2 separate regions of the Homo sapiens genome follow, and region 1 is linked to region 2. Evidence: promoter capture Hi-C in 16 types of primary human blood cells and fetal thymus (Javierre and others, 2016). All regions are on one chromosome and are shown on one strand. The core of a region is centred on a gene start or on the middle of the fragment in contact, and the rest is flanking DNA. Distances in the headings are between cores, read along the strand shown. Region 1 overlaps IL1RL2 (interleukin 1 receptor like 2). Region 2 holds the start of IL1RL2 (interleukin 1 receptor like 2).

Evidence for each region. The method cuts DNA at HindIII sites, captures the fragments that hold promoters and counts their contacts. A CHiCAGO score of 5 or more calls a contact.
Region 1: a fragment that was not itself captured here is called in contact with the fragment with the promoter of IL1RL2 in region 2 in 1 of 17 cell types (M2 macrophages); the score reaches 5.4 in M2 macrophages.

What each region holds. Positions count from the first base shown.
Region 1 is chr2:102,237,188-102,239,887 of GRCh38, forward strand. IL1RL2 (interleukin 1 receptor like 2) reads left to right here. Exons shown (of 12, transcript NM_003854.4): 12 at 2,005-2,700. The coding sequence ends at 2,054. Among named protein-coding and RNA genes, the nearest start is that of IL1RL2, 52 kb to the left of the region's middle. RefSeq lists an enhancer at 528-1,727. The HindIII fragment of the contact is 3,382 bases long and covers 1-2,700 here.
Region 2 is chr2:102,185,603-102,188,358 of GRCh38, forward strand. It overlaps IL1RL2 (interleukin 1 receptor like 2), which reads left to right and starts at 1,421. Exons shown (of 12, transcript NM_003854.4): 1 at 1,421-1,484; 2 at 2,254-2,323. The coding sequence starts at 2,266. RefSeq lists an enhancer at 1,077-1,606. The HindIII fragment of the contact is 3,870 bases long and covers 789-2,756 here.

The DNA.
Region 1 (2,700 bases), core at 155-2,654, 52 kb after region 2:
GGAAATGGCTGGGAAGGAAGGGGGAAGGGTGCTGAGATGCCCTCAAATCTGAATGGGGTGGGTGTATTCCCCAAATCCTCACCAAACCACGAGCCAGTGACCACTCACCCTTTGCGGTCCAGATCTTACTGCCCCGGGGTTAGTCAAGTGGCCAGAGGTGGTGCCCACTGCCCTCAGGGGGTTTCCTGGCGTGGCCTGGTCTCACATGCACTCCGCAGAAGGAAGGACGAAGCGTCCTCAGCCAGCCCGCAGCCACCCTGCCCACTCCAGCACTGCAGGCAGCCTTCAGAGACCAGCCCAGAGAAGAGAACGGCAGCGAGTGAGGGGACAGAGTGCGGAACAGATCAGTAATGCCCATTTTCCTCTTGGGTGCAATAGGAGAAACAGCCTGTTTTAATTAAACTAGCGAATCCTCCATGAGGAATAACGACTCTCATGTTGGAGAGAGAAATCGAGATGCAAAGAAACTTTTTAAAGTTCTACTAATTCCTAATGAAATAATAGGGATGCAATGCAGCAAGAATACAAATAATTGAAGTAGCCTGGCATCACCGCTGACATGTAGGCAGGTTGGCAGGTAACAGCTCCGCTCATGGTCTCAAGTCCAAATTTGTATAAGAAAGGAGGTTTAAGAGTTCAACGGCTAAGGGACAAAAAGGTAGTTTATGGGAACGCTGAAGGCCACCCTCAATTCTCTCCCGTTTCTCCAGCTGGGCTTGGCGCAAATATGAGGTCAATGGGGTCCTATCCCTAGCCCTTGGGGGTGGGCTCCAGAATTCTACTCCAAGCAAAGTGAAGTCAGTTTCCAAGGAGCCAGTGTGCCTTCATCACAGGCCAATTTATAATTTAATGATTCACAAAGTTTTTTAATACTATGAATTAGCTGTAAACCCTCATCACTCCTTTCCAAGACCCTGGCTTGAGGGAATTAGAGACCCCCCTGGGAATCCCCAGGGACTGACCTGGAGGTAGGGCTGCGAGCGGAGATTGGACCAGAGAGGTGAAATACAGGTGCTGAGTCGCTGGGTTACCTTTACATTCACCTTCCCATAATGACTGAGTCAGCCACAAAACCCACTACCTTTGGTATCTCCCCTCAAATACCCTGAGTCGGCTCATGAGAGAGGCCCTGGGAAAGACCCAGTCACATTAAATAAAGGGACCGGGAAGGTGTGGTCTTTCCCCGGAGGACCAAGCAAGATGAAGATATACATGTGAAAAGTGCTTGGCAAACCGTGGGATGCCATGAGGAGCTGGCCTGCCAAAATATGGAATGTGCTCAGGGAGCCTCAGTCCCCAGGGCCCCCCACACCCATCAGCACCCCATAGTGACGCAGACCACTTCCTGCCACGTCATGGTTGGTTGACCTTTCCTCGGCACTTGGTCCTGTTTTTTATTTATAAACTTCCCTCTAACACATGCTTGTTTGGTATTGATCTGGGGCTGTGTAAAGTGGAAAATTCCTTCCTGGTTTCCTTGAAGAACAGAGGCTGTTCCAGATGAGGTCTGGAGTGAGCTACAGAGGGTGATGCTGGCTTTAGGAGTGGTGGCTGCTGGGTCTGAATGTTAGAGGCCACACATCTCCAGTAGTAATATTATTCTGGGAGATGGGAACTCTGTGTGTGGATGTCCCCTCCCATACACCCAGGAACTTCTGAGAAATGCTGCTGTTCACTAATACAATTCCACCCTCATCTCCCAGGCTGTCCCTGGAGAGGAGCTCTCCACTTGAGAAGGACCTCAGAGCCCTGGCTCTTGTCATCCAAATTCACCTTTCCTCTGGGGCTCTTATAGGAAAGGTGAGAGTTGACACTGCTCACCTGTGATCCTCTGGCATAACCACCTTGCAAAGATAACCCAAGAGAAATGGAAGCCTCAGGGATATACCACCAGATGAACTGACGGCAAGGTGGAGGTTTTCGCATTCCCATGGCAGGTTTCCTTATCAGCCCCCATCTCCCACCACATCAGAAAAGGAGTAAATAGATCTTTCCTGATTTCAGGCCCAGAACTAGGCTCAAGAAGAAAGAAGTGTACTCTCACGACTGGCTAAGACTTGCTGGACTGACACCTATGGCTGGAAGATGACTTGTTTTGCTCCATGTCTCCTCATTCCTACACCTATTTTCTGCTGCAGGATGAGGCTAGGGTTAGCATTCTAGACACCCAGTTGAGCTCAGGCGTAGAGAAGAGGAGGATGGGATAAGAACTGGGGCCATCCCCATGTCATGGTGGGTGAGAGCTGGGGCCATCCCCGTGGTCATGGAGGGTGAGAGCTGGGGGTTATCCCCATGGTCATGGAGGGTGAGGGCTGGTCGGGGGAGGCATCCCCAAGTCATGGTGGGTGAGAGCTCGGAGCATCCCCATGTCATGGTGGGTGAGATCTGGGGGTATCCCTGTGTCATGGTGGGTGAGGGCGGGTGGTCATCCACATGGTCATAGTGGGTGAGAGCTGGGGGTATCCCTACATCATGGTGGGTGAGAGCTGGGAGCATCCCCATGTCATGGTGGGCGAGATCTGGGGGGTATCCCCACGTCATGGTGGATGAGAGCTGGGGGAATCACCATGTCATGGTGGGTGAGATCTTGGGGGATCACCTGTCATGGTGGGTGAGAGCTGGGGGGATCACCTGTCATGGTGGGTGAGAGTTGGGATTCATCCCCATGTCATGGTGGGCTGAGCCCACATGGAAGCCTGT
Region 2 (2,756 bases), core at 171-2,670:
ATATACTAGTCCTCAGGCTAAGAAATAAGATAGGACACAAATGCATCTATTCATAAAGTGAAAATGAAAAAAGATAGCATAAAGATTTAGAAATACCTTTCAACACTGCTCATAGAAATAATTCTGAATGCAAATCATATGACTTTTATAAAAATAGTAACACTTTTGTTTTGTTTTGGATGAGGACATAAACGCTGAAGAATATACATATACAGAGGAACCTCGTTTACTGCTGATAGTAGGGGAAATAAATAATAATCTCTATTTATAGCTTAAGAAAGAGGTCCTCAAAGAGTGGGAGCCCTATGGGTCCCTGAGAGACCCTTCAAAAAGATCTGTGAAATCAAAACTATGTTCATCGTAATATTAAGACCTTATATTCCTTTTTTATTCTCATTCTCTCATTAGTGTATGGTGGACCTTTTCAGAAGCTATATGACATATTATATCATGACACTGATTGCAGAAGCAAGTATGAGAATCCAGTCATCTTCTAGTAAGCCAGACATCAAAGAGATCTGCATCTATGTAGAACAATGCCGCTTTTCTCAATAAGCCTGTTTTAGAAAGTAGAGTTATTTTTCATAAATTGTATGATATTTGCGTTAACATGTAATGGGTTTATTGTCACTTAAATAAGAAAGTAAACGTTTAAAAATTCTCCCTTTAACTTCTAATGTAGTAATATTGACAGGCATAACCTACATAGACAAAAGCACTTTGGAATCCTCAATACTTTTTAAGAGTGTAGAAATCTACAAACCACTGACCTTCAGCCTATCACAGGAAGCTTTGCTATTAGCACAATTATTGCATCTCTGCTCCTATGGTTGCTTTTGTCTCACTGTCTCTGATCTTTCAAAGACCGTTGGGAAGAGCTTGACCAGTAATCTATTGAATGGAGATTACATTTTGAACCTTTTCCTACAACTCAGTGCCCTGTGGGATGACTCTGGGGTGTCTCCTGATGGCTAGGGCAACAGGTCCCTGTTGACATCACCTTATCGGGAAGTTTTAGACAGGAACAGTCTTCAGGCTCTGAAGTACTTGAACACCATGGGATTCCTGCCTTACAGAAGTTAATGAGCACGACTCAGGCAGATTCATAATTCTCCTTAGAAGCCATTTGGGATGGCTTCCACTTTGGGGTCATTCCACATAGGCCAATGCAGAGCATGCAGTAACTGCTCAAATAGGATTTGGAAAGGAATGAATAATTCATTTAGACGTTCAACTTGGAATAGACTTAAGCAGACACTCCTGGTGATGAAGGACTTAGATGCCAGAAAATCAGGCTCAAAGACTTTCAAGCCACTTCCTAGTGTGATGTCACATTCCTTCCTACGCTCCACTGGGGAAGGCAGGTCTGCCCCGCCCACGGTGGCGGGGAAATACCTAGGCATGGAAGTGGCATGACAGGGCTCGTGTCCCTGTCATATTTTCCACTCTCCACGAGGTCCTGCGCGCTTCAATCCTGCAGGCAGGTAGACACCGGGCCGGGAGTCTGGCTGAGCCAGGCATGGGTGGGGCCCTGACAGTAGGAGAGGTGTGCAGGAAAAGACGTGGCAACAATGTGTGCCACCGCAGGCCAGGGATCAGGCCCCCCAGGCCGGCCCCCGACCGGCTAGGTGACCATGGGGGAGCCGACTCCGTCTCTGGGTCGAGGAGTGGAGCTCGCGGCTATTTTCAGCTCCAGCGGCTCCCTGCCTTCCTTTCTCCTTTCCCGCTGGCCCTTGCCAGGTAGGCCTGCCCTGGCTGCTCCCCAGTGAGCGGGTGTTTGGGGTTTCTGTTTAGACCGCCAGGCTCGGGTGGATCCCGAGGACACAGGCGCGCAGGGGAGGCTCCGTGCGCCGCGAGCGGGGTTGGGGTCCCACGTCTGGAACCCAGGCCGCAGGCTGCGCTGGGGGGCGCCCTGGCCCTCACGGGGGCTCTGGACACCAGCCTGCTTCGCTGTCAGGTGGCAGAAGCAGCTCCCACGCGGTCCCCACCGCCGCCGCCGCCTACTCCTCGCCCATCCTCCTCTGCGGCGGGGCGAGCTCCCTGCCCTGGATCCTGGTCGGGCGCCCAGACGAAGGAGACAGGGGAAGGGCAGTCTTTGGGGAAACGTGGGGCCAAAGTCGGAGGGCTCCCCAGGAAAAAGGGAAGGTCAGCGGCCTGGGCGGTTGTCTTTGAGATTCCGAGGTCGCCCACGCCGGCGCCTCGGGCCCGCCCTACTGCGTCCTCCCCTCCCACCCTCTTCTCCCTTCCTTGCAGCCCGGTTTGGGGATGTGGTCCTTGCTGCTCTGCGGGTTGTCCATCGCCCTTCCACTGTCTGTCACAGCAGGTACGTTCCGTGTGTCCTCCGTTCCCAGAGGCTGCCCGAGTCCACAGGCTCCTGGCCTGTCATTGGGAGCCCCCGGGGATCGCGTCAGCCCGAGCGCGGCTCCTTCCCCTCCCCAGACCGCCAGGCGGAGTTCCGCGGAAGAGGAAACAGAGAACCAGCTCCACGTGCTCGGATGCTCAGCCCTGAATGTCGCCTTTGAGCTTGGAGGTGACTTCGGGGAGGGGAAGGAGTTAGGCAAATTCCAAGTGAAGACTTGAGTAACAATGCTCAAATGGAATTACTACAGGCTATTTTATAAGATAAAGCGTTATTTTATGACACAAGGTGAAAGCAAGGAAACCGTCAATAGAACAAATTTCTTCTAAGAAATTTGGTATGGCCGGGCGCAGTGGCTCATGCCTGTAATCCCAGTACTTTGGGAGGCCAAGGCGGG